Linked DNA regions of Homo sapiens: regions 1, 2 and 3 are each linked to region 4. The links are contacts of gene promoters, found by promoter capture Hi-C in blood cells and fetal thymus (Javierre and others, 2016). All regions are on one chromosome and are shown on one strand. The core of a region is centred on a gene start or on the middle of the fragment in contact, and the rest is flanking DNA. Distances in the headings are between cores, read along the strand shown. Region 1 overlaps TUFT1 (tuftelin 1). Region 2 overlaps SNX27 (sorting nexin 27). Region 3 overlaps TUFT1 (tuftelin 1). Region 4 holds the start of LINGO4 (leucine rich repeat and Ig domain containing 4).

What was found. Contacts are between HindIII fragments. The CHiCAGO score rates a contact against its expected background, and 5 or more counts as called.
Region 1: a contact is called between a fragment that was not itself captured here and the fragment with the promoter of LINGO4 in region 4, in 5 of 17 cell types (M1 macrophages, M0 macrophages, activated CD4 T cells and 2 more). The highest score is 6.4, in M1 macrophages.
Region 2: a fragment that was not itself captured here is called in contact with the fragment with the promoter of LINGO4 in region 4 in 1 of 17 cell types (total CD8 T cells); the score reaches 5.1 in total CD8 T cells.
Region 3: a fragment that was not itself captured here is called in contact with the fragment with the promoter of LINGO4 in region 4 in 5 of 17 cell types (activated CD4 T cells, naive CD8 T cells, naive B cells and 2 more); the score reaches 7.4 in activated CD4 T cells.

Annotation. Positions count from the first base shown.
Region 1 is chr1:151,560,786-151,565,401 of GRCh38, forward strand. It overlaps TUFT1 (tuftelin 1), which reads left to right. Exons shown (of 13, transcript NM_020127.3): 2 at 1,306-1,380; 3 at 1,800-1,901; 4 at 3,119-3,205; 5 at 3,740-3,829. Among named protein-coding and RNA genes, the nearest start is that of MIR554, 17 kb to the left of the region's middle. The HindIII fragment of the contact is 1,878 bases long and covers 1,905-3,782 here.
Region 2 is chr1:151,636,130-151,640,643 of GRCh38, forward strand. It overlaps SNX27 (sorting nexin 27), which reads left to right. Exons shown (of 12, transcript NM_001330723.2): 2 at 2,759-2,990. Among named protein-coding and RNA genes, the nearest start is that of SNX27, 26 kb to the left of the region's middle. The HindIII fragment of the contact is 1,372 bases long and covers 2,457-3,828 here.
Region 3 is chr1:151,579,273-151,583,896 of GRCh38, forward strand. TUFT1 (tuftelin 1) reads left to right here. Exons shown (of 13, transcript NM_020127.3): 11 at 377-460; 12 at 1,670-1,770; 13 at 2,372-4,311. The coding sequence ends at 2,435. Among named protein-coding and RNA genes, the nearest start is that of SNX27, 30 kb to the right of the region's middle. The HindIII fragment of the contact is 1,354 bases long and covers 1,656-3,009 here.
Region 4 is chr1:151,803,365-151,807,773 of GRCh38, forward strand. It overlaps LINGO4 (leucine rich repeat and Ig domain containing 4), which reads right to left and starts at 2,055. Exons shown (of 2, transcript NM_001004432.4): 1 at 1,866-2,055. It overlaps RORC (RAR related orphan receptor C), which reads right to left. Exons shown (of 11, transcript NM_005060.4): 11 at 2,707-4,269. The coding sequence ends at 4,108. The HindIII fragment of the contact is 4,610 bases long and covers 1-4,249 here.

The sequences.
Region 1 (4,616 bases), core at 1,594-4,093, 240 kb before region 4:
CCAGAGATCCATAGTGGCTAAGCCCCTCATTCACTTCCATGCATAGTGCAGGTGATTTACTCTGCCTTGTTAGCCTTCTCTCAACGTTATCATCTTCCCAATCTACAGGCCCTTACTTTTCCCTCCTACCACGTTTTTCCTTTCAGGTTTTTAATTTTCCCTGCAAAGTATTGTGTGTGTGTGTGTGTGTGTGTGTGTGTGTGTGTGTGTGTGTGTGTGAGTGTTTGAGACGGAGTCTTGCTCTGTCACCCAGGCTGGAGTGCAGTGGCACAATCTTGGCTCACTACAAGCTCCGCCTCCCGGGTTCACGCCATTCTGCTGCCTCAGCCTCCCGAGTAGCTGGGACTACAGGCGCCTGCCACCACGCCAGGCTGATTTTGTTTTTGTATTTTTTAGTAGAGACGGGGTTTCACTGTGTTAGCCAGGATGGTCTCGATCTCCTGACCTCGTGATCCACCTGCCTTGGCCTCCCAAAGTGCTGGGATTACAGGCGTGAGCCACCGTGCCCGGCCTTTTTAAAAAAATCTTCTTTGAAGCCCGGGCAACATGGCAAAACCTCATGTCTACAAAAAATACAAAAATTAGATGGGCATATTGGTGCGCCTGTAGTCCCAGCTACTTGGGAGGCTGAGGTGGGTGGATCACTTAAGCCTGGGAGGTTGAGGCTGCAGTCATGCGCGCGCGCGCGCACACACACACACACACACACACACACACACACTTCTTTGACTTATGAAAGAAAACCTGCTTCATTCTTTGAAATTAGGTTGATCTCTAGATGAATACCTATTATCTTGCCTGTTTTCACTTGGATAATTTCCATGTGGCTCATAGAAATGGGAGTTTGAATTCAGGTACTTTCCTATAGTTTAGTTCAGGAAGAATATGCTAGTCTTGTAAAGTGCATCAATAACTTGCTGGCTGGTTGTCAGGAGCAGAAATTCTGGATTGAGGATGAGCAGTCCAGGAATGACCTCTCTACAACTAGAGAAAGAAGAATGCATGCAATGTGTTCCCTGTAGTCCAAGAACCAGGGTAGCCCTGCTGGAGCTCTACAGAGCCATGTGCCAGGTAATCTTTGTTGTGAAAGAAAAAACTGTTGGGTGGTCCCAGAGTCACCACCCCAAACACCTGATCTTGGGCAAGGTAATGCTGCCTCCCTGGACTTCAGTTTTCCTAGTCTGTGAAGTGGTGATGATAAGACCCGCTCCACAGAGCTGGCAGAAGCACCCCTGTACTGGTAGCAGTTTGTACCTGTAGACTGTAAAGTTGAGGGGTTATTGTTGCTGTCATTGTCATTATTAGGGCAGCGTGGACATTCTCAGGCTGACTCTCCAGGGTGAACTGACAGGAGATGAACTTGAACACATAGCCCAGAAGGTACTGCGGAATTCTGGTGGGCAAGGCCCCCTCCCCACACCAGTGCTTCCTTGCTGCTGGCCTCTTACCCAAGTACTGCCTGGAGCCGACTCTGGTGATGCGAGCGTGGGAGCCCCTCCTTTCAGCAACATCCAGCTTGCCTCAGCCTTCTGCACTGCTTTGGGGCAGGAGGAGTCCCCCACTAAAATTAAAACTAAACTGCTACTTCTGTCCATTCTCCCTGGCCGGTGTTCTTGCTGCTGTGTGGCTTCTGTTAGAAGTTCGGAAACGAATTTTTGGAGAGGAAAGTCAGACTAATCCTTCAAGTCTTTTGAGAAACAGGTCTTCTGCATTAGCTGAGGGGCAGGAGTTCTGGGCTTGCCATGTGGTGTCTGAGCCATCTCTCTCTCTCTCTCTCTCTCTCATCTCTCTTTGGCCAGGCGGGCAGGAAGACCTATGCCATGGTGTCCAGCCACTCAGCTGGTCATTCTCTGGCTTCAGAACTGGTGGAGTCCCATGATGGACATGAGGAGATCATTAAGGTAAGCTTAGTTCACCTCCAACTTTTCTCCCTGTCCTCTTCCTCCCTGCACGTATATGAGAAGGAGCAGTTGATGTTGTTGCCAAAGGGAGCTTGTGGTTTGATGGAAGGAACCAGACCTGAGCTGCTAGTTCCTGGCAATCTCCTAGAAATATCTTAATTAATACCAGGAGACTACAGTCTGCCTGTTAGCAACTTTGGTGCAGCCTGGCCCCAGGCAAGGGGATGGACTGGATGACCTTACTAGGGGCCTATCCACTGACCATGTTTTGCTGCTAGAGGTTGTGGAGACAGGTAGGAGGTGTGTTTATGGAACTTATGTTTTCCTATAATGGGTTCATCCTGATGGAACTTATTTATTTATTTATATATTTTTAGTTTTGTAGAGACAGTCTCGCCTTGTTCCCTGGGCTGGTCTCCAAATCCTGGGCTCGAGCAATCGTCCTGTCTCAGCCTCCCAAAATGCTGGTATTATAGGCGTGCACCAGCCCACCTGGCTGATGGAACTTATTTTTTAAAAAATAAAATGATTTTTGTTATTTCTCTCTCTCTTTTTTTTTATAAAACAGCTTTTTTAGATATAAATCCCATACCACATGATTGACTCAGTTACAGTTTTGGTCAGTGCATAACAAAACTGCATAACAACGTTTTGGTCAGTGATGGACTGCGTAGACAACAGTGGTCCCATAAGATTATTATACTCCATTTTTACTGTATTTTTTCTGGGTTTAGATACATTACCATTGTGTGACGATCACCTACAGTATTCAGTACAGTAACATGCTGTGCAGGTTTGTTTGTAGCCTAGGAGCAATAGGGTACACCATACAGCCTAGGGGTGTAGGAGGCCATGCCATCTAGGTTTGTGTGTGTACACTCTGTGATGTTTGTACAAGGATGAAATTGCCTAATGATGCATCCCTCAGAATGTATTCCTATGATTAAGTGATGCATGACTGTATATATGTGAGTGTTTATGCCAATACAGCTATATAGCATTGAGCTAAATTTATTGCATTAGGGTAAATTTCCAGAAGTAGAACTGATAGACCAAAAAGTAAATATATTTTTAGGTCTTCTGATCCGAATCACCAAATTCCACCCAGTAAATTGGTGGTAACAATTTACCCTCCCACCAGCACTATATGAAGCTGCCTATTTTTGTATAGTTAATTTAATTTGAGGTTTCTTAACTAAATGGTGTTCTTATTTCAGGTGTACTTGAAGGGGAGGTCTGGAGACAAGATGATTCACGAGAAGAATATTAACCAGCTGAAGAGTGAGGTCCAGTACATCCAGGAGGTGGGCACCCCTTACCTCTCACGCAGTGCCTAGGTCATTTCTCTAAATCTCACATTTTTTGTGACTGTCTTCTTTTGTGGATTCTGGTTTTTCCCCTTCTTTTTCCTTTATGTCTCTGAAATGCCACCATGCCCTCCCGTGTGTCAAATATATAACTTTTGACCATACCTGATCCATTAATCCACAAATACTTAAGTACTATGGGCCCAGCACTGTCCCAGCCACCTATCGAAAATTACCAGCCACTTTTCACAGCATTTCTTAACTCCCTTCCTGGCTCGTGTTTCTCGTTGGCACTTATGCCCATATAACATATTACACATTTTACTTATTTGTCTTTTGTGTCTTGTGTCTCCCCAACAAGAATGTCAGCTGTAGCTCCACTTGACCAAGGTCCCTCCCTCCATCCTGCAGCCAGTCGTTAGGACAGTGCCTGACTCGCAGTACAGGCCAGGGATGGGGCACAGAGTTGGGTGAGTTGGCATGCTCTCTTTCTCTACCCTAAAGCTCAAGTTTCTTCCCCTCCCCTCCCAGGCCAGGAACTGCCTACAGAAGCTCCGGGAGGATATAAGTAGCAAGCTTGACAGGAACCTAGGAGATTCTCTCCATCGACAGGAGATACAGGTAATAGGAAATGGTCCATGGTTGGGTCCCCACCGAGGAGGTGGGGTTGTGCCAGGCAGTCTCATTTACCAATTACCCAGTGTGTGCTAAATCTAGCATCCCTGCCAGGAATGGAGAAAATAGAGGTGATGCTGGCTTCTCTGGAGCACTCACAATCTGGTTAGGACTCTCCAGCCGATGAGCACTTACATTTACACATGTCAGCTTAAACATAAGTACACCTGCTCCTGAAACACTGTACAGAAATTGAACTTATATAAATTAAATATCATCAGTTGTTAGCAAACCTCTTATCTATAAGGATTCTGTGATCAAGCTTCTTATAATAATAGAATTTTGTAAAGCAGACAATCACCTGTAAATCCACACTTCTCATAAGCTGATCTTGCTTAGTTTGGGTGATACCTGTAGCGTAAATTGAAGTCCGTGCCCTAGCCTGTTATTAATCTTGTATATAGTTATGTCTAACCTGGGATGGGAAGTTCCTCAAGGTTAGGAGTTCACCCCACCCCACCCCACCTCGTGTCTGTATCCTCACCCTCCCATTCCCCCCAGGTCTGGGATGTAGAAGGCATCAGTAAATGTTTGTTAGACTGAACAGATTGGGTAAGTCTTTCCTGGGAGGGATAATCCTGGGATCCTGCTTTTCAGTTTTTCCAAAACTCGAGGACAGAAATGTCCTCAGGAGAGCAGAGCTGTCTCTTTGTGACTTCGCCCTCATCCTTTAGATTCTGAGTTGTATCCTTGATTTGCATTTTGGTTCAGGCAGAGTCTTGCTCCAGCAGCA
Region 2 (4,514 bases), core at 1,893-4,392, 170 kb before region 4:
CAGTGACTCTCAAGTCTACCAACAGAGTGCCCTAGATAAAAAATTCTTTAAAGGAAAAAAAATCAGGGAACCGAAAAGTAAGATTTGAGCATCAGTTTTTATTTTTCACAAATGTGCGTTTCATAAAATTGATTGCATTAACAGAAATTTTGTTTTGGTATTTAAGATTTTATTTTATTTCATTTTTTAAAAAACAGGATCTTCTTTTGTAACCCAGGCTGGAGTGCAGTGGCATGATCTAGCTCACTGCAGCCTTGAACTCCCAGGCTCAGGTGTTCTTCCCAGCTCAGCCTCCCAAGTAGCTGGAACTATAGGCACGTGCCACCAGGCCTGGCTAATCTTTTGGTATATTTCGTATAGAGACGGGGTTTCACCATGTTGCCCAGGCTGGTCTCAAACTCCTGAACTCAAGTGATTCATCTGCCTTGGCCTCCTAAAGTGCTGGGATTACAGGTGTGAGCCACACTGTGCCTAGCCTGTATCCAAGATATTAGTATTTTGGCCAGTCTTTAAGGTGTCAGCTTTTTCCACTTTTGTAAAAAAAAAAAAAAAAAAAAAAAAGGATATTCATGAGTTAGCTAAGGTTCCTAGGGATATATAAGAATGTATGGTGATTTCTAAACTTGCTTTTTCATTTTTTTTCTTATACCATCAAATCATTTTCTCAGAACTAGTAAGGCCAAATACTTAGATAAAATCTTTTGCCAGTTCCTTACTTAAGATTTCCATTTCTTCTTTAATCAAAATCTATATACATAGTACCTCTTTACTTCTTAAACCTTCTGATATAAATGTTTAGGAATTGTTCTACATGTTTTATTACATTAATCTTCACAGCAACTCTGTTAGGAACTTATTGTCTCCATTTACACATGTGGAAAGCAAGGCTAAGAAAGGTTAAAAACTCAGTCAAGACCAATTCTGGTACTAATAGTCAGGATCAGGATTTAAACTCCTGTAAGTAGCTCCAAAGCCCATTTTCTTTCCATTTTACCATGCTGGTATATGATCAGAGTTGATCACGTTTTTTTTGTTTTTTTGTTTTTTTTTTTTGAGACAGAGTCTTGCTCTGTCCGCCAGGCTGGAGTGCGGAGTGCAGAGTGCAGTGGCGTGATCTGGGCTCACTGCAAGCTCCGCCTGCCGGGTTCACGCCATTCTCCTGCCTCAGCCTCCCAAGTAGCTGGGACTACAGGCGCCCACCACCATGCCCGGCTAATTTTTTGTATTTTTAGTAGAGACAGGGTTTCACCGTGTTAGCCAGGAAGGTCTTGATCTCCTGACCTTGTGATCCACCCGCCTCGGCCTCCCAAAGTGCTGGGATTATAGGCTTGAGCCACCGCGCCCGGCGCCTGATCATGTTTTTTGATCACAGGTCTGACTGAATGAATTCAAAGCCCAAGTTTCCATCAGTGAAAGGGGCTCTTTATTTTTTTCTATAGCTAGCTTATTGTAAAATTACTGATTTTTTTGTATATAAGTTAGACTTGTAGGATGTGAAATGTCAGGAGTGCTGAATTTACTGGCTAGATTGTTAAACCCTAAATTAAATCCCAGGAGGCTAGCTGGGGGGTCTCCTGACTGTTCTGTTTATATAAATGGATATTTCAGATACCAGACTCTGACAGAGACAATTTCAGTGACTGAAAAGTTTATGGAAGGCTTGTTACTAAATTTAGTATCATTTTTCAGGAAGGAAAATCCCTAATGGTTTGGAACAGGACTGAAAAAGAATTTAACTCTAAAGGGTAGATAAGCTTTAAATGTTAAATTGATTAGAGGTCAGGTGTGTATTTCCTACCTCTCTTGGGATAGCCATGGGAGGGAACCTCCAGGCCTGCTGCCCAGTGGTTTTTGCTGAGAGAGCAGCTGGATCAGCATTCTGGAAGGTAGTTTGGTTTGCTGAGGGAGTCTTGTGAGACTCAGCATCTTTCTTGACAAAATACTTCATCTAAACCTTGTACTTTGTTTGCCTTATTTCAGCCTTTTGTACACAGCAAAACAGGAAGGAAAATTAGTAGGCTGACCATATAATTATAGGTGTATATTTTTTAGTTTGGACTGATTACACAGGACTCTAAATGAGATAGCATAGAGCAGGAAAAAAGTTGATGGAATCCCAAGAGGTTAATTGAATTGGAAACTAGTGTATGTGAAGAGTAATACCATTTAGCTCCCAAAGTAATGAAACTTGGCATAAAGGAAAATTAAGTTGACTGATTTGAGATATGGAGAGAAATTGGATGTAAATGTAAAGGAATTATCTTCAGTCATAACTTTTTTTGAGTCTCTATTTACAAATTAAGAGAATTTATTTTGTGAAGGTTCTTTTAACAGAATTCCTTTGAGGTTTAAAAAGGACAAAGTACAATTCAAGTGGCAGGGCTGTCAAAAGCCACTTTGATTGAATTGTATACATGCTTAGTTAGAATGAGGAAATTGGATTGTTTGACTGAAAAAGCTTTGTTTCCTCCTCAGCTTCAGCCTCTTTCCATGTGCGTTCCTGAAGCTATGTGTGGGATATTAGTATAGAGGAAGGGGAGGTCTTCTCACCTCTTTCCATTTTTCCCCCCGCCATAAGTTCACAAAGTTTTTCACATTAGAAACTGTTAAAACATAAACAACTTTTCTGGAACCAAATTAATCTTTTGACTTCATGGTTCATACCGTGTGACACTGGAGTTTGGGCAGGAGGGTGGAGATACAAGGTGTTTGGACCCTTCTGGTTTATGGGATTGTCTTTTTCCCTTTTTCCCCTTAGGAACCACGTGAATGTTGAGGGGGCGACACACAAGCAGGTGGTGGACCTGATTCGAGCAGGCGAGAAGGAATTGATCTTGACAGTGTTATCTGTACCTCCTCATGAGGCAGATAACCTAGATCCCAGTGACGACTCGTTGGGACAATCATTTTATGATTACACAGAAAAGCAAGCAGTGCCCATATCGGTCCCCAGATACAAACATGTGGAGCAGAATGGTGAGAAGTTTGTGGTGAGTGTCAGCCCAACTCGATCCTCGAACATCTAGCTTTGTTTCCCCTAGTCTTATAATTATGAAACTATTATAGTGGTAGATAAAAGGCTGCAACCTAGGTCAGTTTGTCTACCAGGAGGATGAGTTCACACATAAATAAAAGACACTGACCCTGATTTATTGCAGGGGGTGAATTACAGTAGTGGAAAAGAGTCCTACTCAGCTTGAGTATAATTCCATTTTATTTTTAGATAGTTTCAAGTTTGCATTCTGGTTTGTCGTAAACGTGTGAGTTTTTGTTTAGTTTCTTTTTTGTTTGTTCTTTTGTTGGTTGCCGTATCTCTTTGCTAATAGTATCTTATTTACTGTTGATTCTGTGGTGCTATAGGGCAAGATTAATGTAAAAGGATGGTGTCCTTCAAGATATTTGGGTAATAGAGAGGTTCACCCATTTCAGAACTTAGATGTCTCTACTCTTCTTTCCACATCATGTTCTTTTTCATTTTCTTTGGAGATATCCGTGTGAATGATTAACTGTGGTTTTTCCCACGAGTTTCCTGAATGCAATTCCCATGAGCTGTTTCACACATTTCTAATCTGTTGCTGTTGTAGCTATGCAGGAAAGCCCATCTTGAATTTTTAGTGATGTGTGCTAGCCCCTTTGCTGAATGCCTTTGTTCTTCAGAGCCTAATTGCCACTGATAGCTCAGTCTACTTAATTTTTCTTTTGGTTGCAATATGCTTTATTTGCCTTTAATTATTTGTGGAGTGTTGATATAATGAGAAATGTTCATTATTCTTAGTAGAAAATGCAGTGGGTTCTGTTAGATGCTGGCAAACAGACTACAGGTTTTAAAGCTTAACAGTTGACTAAAGTTACAGTCTCTAAAACTGAGATTTATCCTCTGCATAGGAACGAGCTACTAAACATTTATGGTAAATTCTTTTTAGTGAAGAGATAAGAAAAGCAAGGAAGCTAAAAGAGTTGCAGAGGATCAAATAATGCTTGGTTGCATCTGTAATTAGCTGTAGATAATGGCATATAGGTTTTATTTCAGCATGGACTTCTGTAGTCTTAGAACCACACACAGAATTTAGAGTTTTATGCTTCCTAAGTGCTAACTTTGAGTCATAAGGCATGTAAGAAGTTGAAATCAAGGTCACATCCTAAAAGTAGAGCAGTCTGGATGTTGAGACCTTTTGGGAATTACCTAAAACCTTGGAAACCTGAGAAAAGGAATAATACTACCAATTGTACCTTTGTTTATTTTTATTTTTATTATATATATTTTTTAAGACGAAGTCTCACTCTGTCCCCCAGCCTGGGGTACAGTGGTGTGATCTTGGCTCACTGCAATCTCTGCCTCCCGGGTTCAAACAATTCTGCCTCAGCCTCCCAAGTAGCTGGGATTACAGGTGCGCACCACCATGCCCTGCTAAGTTTTGTATTTTTAGTAGAGATGGTGTTTCACCATGTTGGCCAGGCTAGTCTCGAACTCCTGACCTCAGGTAATCCACCTGCCTCAGCCTCCCAAAGTGCTG
Region 3 (4,624 bases), core at 1,083-3,582, 220 kb before region 4:
CATGTCAGCTCCATTAGTGTCTGTTTTATTTAGTGCTGTTTTCCATTATCTCGAACAGAGTCAGTCATATAGTAAGTACTCAATAAATATGTCTTGAATGAAAAAATAATTTGTATTTTCCAAAGCCATATGGAATGGGTTTTGTCATTCATTATTTTGGATTCTCAGGGTGGTATTCCCCTCACACACTCCTCACTCCCACCCCTGGGATAATCAAGAGTCTAATATTGACTGAAAGGAGGCCTTTGTAGAAAAGCTAATGAAGTCATATGGAGTTGCAGGGCTCTGCTGCCTTCCCCAGCAGCTGGGGTGAAGTCTGGTGAGTGTGTAATGAGTCATTGCAAAATGAGCTCCAGTGTCTCCCACACCTTTGCAGCTCCAGAATTCAAAAGCTGTGATCCAGTCAAAGGACGCCACCATCCAGGAGCTCAAGGAGAAAATCGCCTATCTGGAGGCAGAGGTGTGTGTGCTGGGCAGCCCAGCAGGGGAACAGGACTCTTGAAGAGAAGGTGGACATAAGGGAGACAGAGGTTATGGGAGGGGTCTTTGTCATGTCTTGCTGTTGCTCTGAAGTGAATACCTAGGGTGGTTGGTTGACTTTCAGTTCAGCTGAATAAACATTTTCTGAGAACCTTCAGGAAGCTGCTAACAATGATGAGATGACCACCCCCCTGGCCCCACCTTCAACGGACATGTCATCATGGTGCAAGCCACATGCCATGGCTGCACACGGCTAATTCTGACCCTCCAGGCTTTGCAAAGGAGCTGGCAGTGGTGCTGGGCTGTGAAGGAGGAGGAGGCATTCATACAGATGGAGCCTTTTCCAGGGCTAGATTACGTAACGAGTTGCCTTCCTAGTCTAATTTCCACTTTGCCACAGGGCCCTACCTGTCTGTTGACTACCTGAAGATCACTTTGCGAACGCTCTGTGAAGATCCCCTGTAGTGAGGGAGAAAAATGGGAGAAAGGGTTATCTTTAGAGAGTTTGCAGTCTATAGTCAGAGATAAAATGTGTATTTTTAAAAAGACCAAAGAATGCTTTATAGAATAGCGTATCAACAAAGGCAAGTGAGTATCTCAACTGAGGACAAAAAATTATATATAGGGGCCAGGTGCAGTGGCTCATGCCTGTAATCCCAGCACTTAGGGAGGTTGAGGCGGTAGGATTGCTCGAGGCCAGGAGTTCAAGACCTAGGCAACATAGTGAGACTTTGTCTCTGAAAAAGAAAAAATTTTTTTAATTAACCAGATGTGGTGGCATGCATCTGTAGTCCAGTTACTTGGGAGACTTAAAGGAGAGGATCACTTGAACCCAGGAGGTCGAGGCTGCAGTGAGCTATAATCACGCCACTGCACTCCAGCCTGGGCAACAGAGTGAGACCCTATCTCAAAAAAAAAAAAAAAAAAAAAAGAACTGTATGTAGAGGACATATAGGAAACCATCAGTCTGTCAGTGTTGTACAGAGTTATGGAGGAGCAGGTATTGGAGGATAAGCGCAATCTATGGTAATGAAGATGAGGCAAGTGGGTATCCAGGTGGTGGCACGCATGGTGGGGGTAGAGGCAACAGCAGCATAAACACAGGCAGAGAGACCAGAATGCACTAGCTGAACGTGGCACCCGGGAAGCCAGAAAAAGGCCAACTCTAACCCCTAAGCTTGTGTTACAGAATTTAGAGATGCATGACCGGATGGAACACCTGATAGAAAAACAAATCAGTCATGGCAACTTCAGCACCCAGGCCCGGGCCAAGACAGAGAACCCGGGCAGGTGAGTGAGCGTGTGTAGATAGAATGGGGCCAGGGAGGAGGGGAGAAGGAGGGACAGAGCTCTGTAGAACCTTTAGTGCTAAGGCAAGAACAAGGCTCCTTTAAATCCAACTTTCCTCCCTCAGTCTGACCCACTGTTTGCCGGAACCATTTTCTAGCCCAATTAGAGTAGAACCTGTTAACACAAGCCCAGGGAGGTCCATGAATGGCTTCTAGAGATGTATGAACCACCTGAAATGGTAGGAAAAATTTAGTTATAATGTTTGCATATTTCTAGGGAGAGGGTATTTTGCCTCTAAGAGATTCAGAAAAGGACCCATGATCTTGACAAAATCGAGAATCACAGCTATATCCACTTCTCAGTTGTTTAACTGCCCCTCTCTTTTCTTCACCCTTGCTACAAGACACATGTATCATGCCCCAAATCTTCCCCTAGTTGTCACTGATAATTACTGTTTTAAAGCACTTGGAACCCAAGTGATCAGCCAGCACTGCAGTGTAAGATTCCAGAGGCCAATGTGAAGATTCCAGGGGCTCTGTGAAGGGTGGGCCACAACACAGCTGTTCCCAGCACAACTCAGTGTTTCCAACCTTCTTTTCAGTATTAGGATATCCAAGCCGCCTAGCCCGAAGCCCATGCCTGTCATCCGAGTGGTGGAAACCTGAGCTGCCTGGAGATGGTTGCTGCCATTGCTGCTGCCTCTGCCTCGGAGAAGCCCACTGCCCCTGTTGGCTGTTAACACTGCCTTTGACTTCCTGACTGTCCCCTGGCTGCACCCAGGACTTCGGGCTCCTGTGTCTCACCATTCCCAAGCCCCTGGCCACTCTAAGCTGGGCAGACGGAGCACGAGCACCTATTCAAGGCACTGCAGCCCTTTGGAAGACATTGTCCTGCAAGCAGGAGCCAGGGCAATATCTATATTCCTACAGTGACTATTTTTCTCTGTAGAGAGCCTCCCTTCTGTTGTAGACTGGACTCTGGCTGTGCCATAAGCCAGGCCTTCATCAGATTGGGAGAGGTGACAAGATTTGCCTCAGCCCTAAAAGCTGGAGACACAGATGTCCAGAGTGATTGGAGAATGTCCTGGGGGAATGAAGTTCCTTCCACAAACACAGCTCAGTTCTTAGCAACAAACTGTTTGTTTTTCTACTTGCTCCATCTGCAGCCTACGCTGCCCTGGCCTCCTGCAGACAGATAGTGGGGTTACCTGGCAAGGCCTGGTGAGAGCCAGTGAACCTAAGCTTTGACTGGGTGGCCTTGTCTTTCTGGGGAGGAGGGAATGTACATTCAGGGAGTAGCCTTTTGCGGAAAAATTCTCTAGGGCTACAGACAGTCATGTGTGACTTCTCTCTGCTGTGAAAACTCCCAGAGTCTCTTTAGGGATTTTCCCTAAGGTGTACCACCAGGCACACCTCAGTCTTCTTGACCCAGAGCCTGAAAACTGTTTTCACTGGGTTCCACCAGTCCCAGCAAAATCCTCTTTGTATTTATTTTGCTAAGTTATTGGTGGTTTTGCTTACATCTCATGATTGATATAATACCAAAGTTCTATAGCCTTCTCTTGCAGTATTTGGATTTGCTTGAAACCGGGAAAACTGTTCCCATTAGGCTTGTTAATGTCAGAGTGACACTATTATGAATCTTTCTCTCCCTTTCCTCTGCCTGTTTCTTCTCTCTTTCTCCTTCAAACTTGCTCTGCAGCTAAGGAAGGTGAGTCTACTTTCCCTGAGGCTTTGGGGTCAGAGTATATGTTGTTTGGAGAAAGAGGGCAATCAGGACTCTTCTGGGACCCAGATGAGTTCTTCACTAGCCCTTCTGAACCCCTTGCTCCATAATTGGTCTTTTATCCTGGCTCTGAATGACCCTGCAGGTCATCATGGTTTTCTTTTTTTATTGTTTTTTTTTTTTTCTGAGACAGAGTCTCACTCTGTCACCCAGGCTGGAGTGCAGTGGCGCGATCTCAGCTCACTGCAACCTCTGCCTCCCGGATTTAAGCGATTCTTCTGCCTCAGCCTCCCGAGTAGCTGGGACTACAGGTGTGCCACCACGCCTGGCTGATTTTTGTATTTTTAGTAGAGATGGGGTTTCACCATACTGGCTAGGCTGGTCTCGAATTCCTGACCTCAGGTGATCCACCCACCTCGGCTTCCCAAAGTGCTAGGATTATAGGCTTGAGCTACTGCGCCCGGCCCATGGTGTTTTTCTTTAGGGCTCTTCCTACAACCTTGAGAAGTAGATAGGCATCAGAGTATGGTACTATAGGAATCAGAAAAATTCAAAACAAATGTGGATTAAGTGTTTAGGCTCTATGTGGCTCACGCAGCCAGAATCCTTAAGTCTGTGTGTTTCTGTGTCTCAAGACTGGGCTCACATTCTGGCTTTGTCCATAACAATGCTCTGGGATTTCAGGGAGTTCCCTCATTTGTAAAATGAGGGGGTCAGAGCAGGTGATATCCATGTTTCTTCCCTTTCTGATATTGTTGTCTGTGGCATATTCTTTGTATGGCGAATTTAATAAATTATATTAATGTGTCTCTTTGACCTCCTGGTCTGGTTTCCTTTCACTTTTCAGGGAGGATGAAAGAAGAACATTTTAGTGCTTCTTGGAAGATGGGCACCCTGTTATCCACATGTGGGAGGTGTGGTCCAAACATCCCAAATGCCATGATATGAGGACTTTGTGGCATTTATAGAGGTATTAGAAGAAGCTCACCTCCGTGCTCTGAGTCGTGATTGTAGGAGGCAGCCCCTAACTTTAGCTTTGACCCTCTCTGGAGCAATGGCCTTGTAGGATCCCTAAGCCTGGCCGCATTGTGTCTCATTTGGAAGAGATAGAGGTAGAGTCCTGTGATTA
Region 4 (4,409 bases), core at 805-3,304:
CCCCAAAATGCCTGTGTGGACAACTGCCAAGCTGTACATTAGCTGTGGCATAGGATGCAGGAGGCACTTGACTGGGAAGCTGGGAATCCCCTGCAAGAGCCCAGGGGCAACTGCTTCTCTACTGCAATTGAAGTTGGGGTGTGTGAGAGACCCAAAGGATGCCCAGGTTTTGAGTTCTGTTGCTTGGTCTTCAGTCTTGGGCTTCCCTCATATCCCTCCTTAATGGTGTTTGGATTCTGGTCCAGTGTGTGGATCTGAGGGAGAGCTCTTGTCCCTTTTGGCCTGAGCTGCCTGAGAAATTCCCAAGAGACAGATTGTGGACCAGGGAGCATAGATAAGTGAGGAGAGACAGCATCTGACCAAGTGCTGTAGGATGGGGAGGAAGGGAGCCGTTGGCTGGCACAGCAGGTATCTGGGCACAGACAGTGTGCAGAGCCTGTAGACTTATAGTCAGTTTCTGGGTACCAGGTTCCGGGAACCCTCAGGAAGATGGTGACTACAATGGCTGAGGTGACAGAGGAGAAGGGGCCCTCTAGGTGATGAGGGCCCCTGACTCATCCTGTTAGATGTCAACAGGGACCCCAAGGCAGAGGAAGTACTGGAATTGGCAAGGGATGGCTACAGAGATAGGAGCAAAAGCCCATGGATGCTCTCTGGGATACAGCGCGTCTGAGTCTCTGCTGAGCGGCAATCCTGATCACCTTTGGGCTTGTGGGCTTCAGGCTCTCTGGGCTCTACAGGGTCAGCTTTCTACTACATGCCCTGTTTTTTCTCATGTGGAACTTAGGAGAGGCAGTTTAAGAGATGGTCATTTCTTCCCCTTTCCTTCCCACTCTCCACCTCCTAGAAGGATCATTCTAGTGGCTATCCTACAGCCACTTGAGAGGATTGTCCTAGTTGGGAAACTAAAGAAAGAGGCCAAAAGAGCAGAGGGATGCAGAAAACTGGTGTGAGGCTTGGGGATGAAAAAGAATAACGTGGGGCAAAGACTGCAGAGCAGACTCTTCTCGCCCCAAACTGACCTAACAGGTCTCTGTGGCATGCCCAGAGCTCTCCCGGGAAAGATGGCCCAGCCTCCCTTGTTCTCCCTAGGCTTGTTCTGGGAAGTCCACCTGACAGCTAGCTCTTCATCACTACTGCTGCAGTTCCTGCCCATCCTCGCTCTGCATTCAGCAAAAGTGCAGTGAAGCATGTAACCCAGCTTTCTTCCTTCCTGCTCCTGTGAGTTTCCCCTGAGTCCGCTGGGCCAGGGGCTGAGGGAGCTGGAGCAACCTATTTTATTTCTAAGGTGGCTAATTTAATCACAAATTTCCCTTGCCAACCTCCATGGCTGCAGGACCGGCTTCCGGCCACTTTGCAGGAAGCGAGATGTCAGAACCACTTTTTTGTCCCTTCAGTGGGGTGGGGACATCACCAAGACATGACCCTTGAAGGCATCACCCCTCAAGGGTAGGGAGCCTTTTTCTTGTCTTTATGTGGCAGTCCAGAGACACTTTTGAACCTGGGTATCCTGTATCCTCTTTAAAGCACACCTGACTGACAAATGGGAACTGTGTGGGGAGAGGGTTCCTGGGGGAAAGATTTCTGGAAGATCCACACCGATTGTGGAGAAAAACCCTTCCAGAGGAAGGGGAAGCACTGGGGAGATGGAAGGGAGGTCTCCTTGGAGCCCTTCCACCCAGGGGTACTTGGGATATTTGAGTTTCCCCCTCAAAGTCCCATGGGGCCAGGATTAATTGTTAGCAGTGTGGGGGCCCAAACCCTCTTGCCTTGAGGGGCCTGTCTGGCCCCTAGTCTGGCCTGTCTCGGAGAATGTTATGGAAAAGGGCGGCTGCATCTTTGGGACAGAGAGTGGGGGCACTTACCGGAGAAGCTGGAAGGTGGCATCAAGTTTGGCACTGCATCTGTCCAGCGCTGGGGGCCCTGTCCCATTCGAGCTGCACCTCAGGCCCCTGCACCTTCCCTGTGTGCCTCAACCCCCGCTGCCTGGCTGCCCGGCTGCTGCCTGCCGCTGCTGCTGCTGCTGTTGCTGCTGCGGCCGCTGCTGCCAAGACTGAGGTGGAGAAAAGAGCCAGAAAGCATTTCTCCTTTTTTTTTTTCCTCTCTCTCTCTCTCTCTTTTTAAACCAGGCAAGAATGAGTCTGCAGCAACCCTGTTGGTGCAAAATAAATAAATAAAGCAACCAGGGAGGGCTGCAGCAAGCACCACTACAGGCTGGCAAGTGACAGGGGAGGGAGCCAGGAGGGAGGCTCTGGTGCCAGGGAGGGGTCATGCAATAGCAAGAACAGCAGGTTCTAGAGGATCTCTCTGACATCCTGATTCCCCCACTGGGGAGCTTGGGCCAGCCACCTTCCAGAGGACTGTCTTTTGGTCTCCCAGATGTGGAGCAATTCTGTGCAACCTCTAAATCTAAACGTTCCCCGTGGGTATCATTTATGGGAAGTTCTCAGTCTAGAGCATCTCCCGTGGGGCTCAGTTTGAGGCTCCTACAGTGGGGGTTCCTGAAGATTCGTTCACAGTCCTCACTGAGGGACTGCTCCACCTGGGGAGAAACTGCAGGGGTCGGGTGAGGGTGGGTTGGATCTGTATAATGCTGATGGATTGCTGAGCTGGAAACCTGAGTCTTGACCCAGGAATGAGACTGGAGAGCAGGCATGCAGGTAATCTAATTTAAGAATCTCCCCCACCCTCTGACACACACACTTCTTGCCTTTAAAATCATTTTATAAAGAATGGCACAAGTTGGGGTTTATGTTTACTCAGATGAACCCGTCCCCTTAGAGGACACAATCCCACCCCCAACCCCCCCAACTCCACGACTGCCCATCATTGCTGTTAATCCCTCAGGGGAGGGTTCACAGCTGTTTATGAAGCCAAGAGAGGTTCTGGGCAAGATCACAGCTGGGGAAACAGGCCCAGGCCCTGCTCCCTGGTGTCCTCCATGCTGGAGTCAGCGGTGCCCAATGACGGGGTGATGTGATCACATCTGCTTCCTTCTCCACAACAAGAGCAGGGCTGGCGGGCAGGCCAGGAAAGTCCTCCAGGATCTGATCTTGCCTTCCGACTGACCAGTGCGAGCGACTTCTGCTTCTCTTGGGTCTTCTAGTGGTAGAAGACAGCTGGAGCTGGGGTGGTATTTGGATCACCCCAGACCCAAGATCAGTGGACTGGAGCACCATGGAAATGTTTGGGAGGGTCCCTCAGGATTGGGACTTTCCCCTGAGGCCTCTAGGCTCCTCCAAGCTGTGGCCTCAAGGATAAGAGAGATTGTGTCAGGTTCATGTGTCTCTGGAACTGCATGATTGCTGTTGAGTCTGTATGTGTTTCACCTGTGTATGGATATGTGTCTCTGATCAGATTTGTGCCAGCCCCTAAAGTCTATCTTTAAAGTGCACATAAGAGGTTTGAGTTTTAACTCTATGTCTGAGATGCTCTTGGCCTTCATTGTACCCTAGTCCCACACCCAAATCCCATAAAACAATTATCTCCAGCCTCTCATCCTCATCCCATCCATTTTTGGTTAGACCCCAGGTAAAGGGTAGGGTGCCCAAATACTTCCTTGCTGAGCTGGGAGGAAGGCAGAGGCAGAAAATGTAAAGCTCCAGATTCATTTTATACAGGTCCTTCTGGGCTCTCACTGCCAGTCTCTGAGCTTGATCCATCTCCCCAAGCCGAAGCCCAAAGGGAAATGCAATGAGGTATTTCAAAGGCTTATTCTTAGCTTCTGAGCTTCTGAATGAATTGCATTCTATTCATCCAGGGAGCCCTGGATGCCCCTGTTTTCTTGAGGATGTCTTGGTCCCCCAGAAGTCCTTAAATCCCAGCCACCCCATGCCTTCCAGAAGCTGGGTGTGAAGGAATATGGGAAATGAGACAGGTCAAAGCTGAGGCTGGAGATGGTGTTCTGCCAGCCCCACCCTCTGGCGATTGTCCCACTGCCAGGCCGGCCTGCTGACAGAAAGCCAGCCGCAGCATCTGCTCACTTCCAAAGAGCTGGTGGGGACCACCCTCCAGGGTTCATGGGAAAGGAAAAGGGTGAGGGTGGAACGGGGTCCAGGGAGGTGGGCCAGCAGGCCATAGGGAGAGGCAAGGAGTCCCTCTTCCAGGTCACTTGGACAGCCCCACAGGTGACTCGGTTTCAGTGCTGAAGAGCTCCTTGTAGAGTGGAGGGAAAGCGGCTTGGACCACGATGGGGTGGAGGTGCTGGAAGATCTGCAGCCTTTCCACATGCTGGCTACACAGGCTCCGAAGCTTCCCCTTGGGTGGCAGCTGGATATGGGTTAATGGGGAAGGGAGGGTCAATACTTCAGCTCTCCTCAGAGCAAAGAAGTCCGCTCATTCTTCCTGGGCTAGGACAAACCCTCCTTGCCTTCCCCTTATGTACTTGGCACTTTGGCACCAGCCAAATC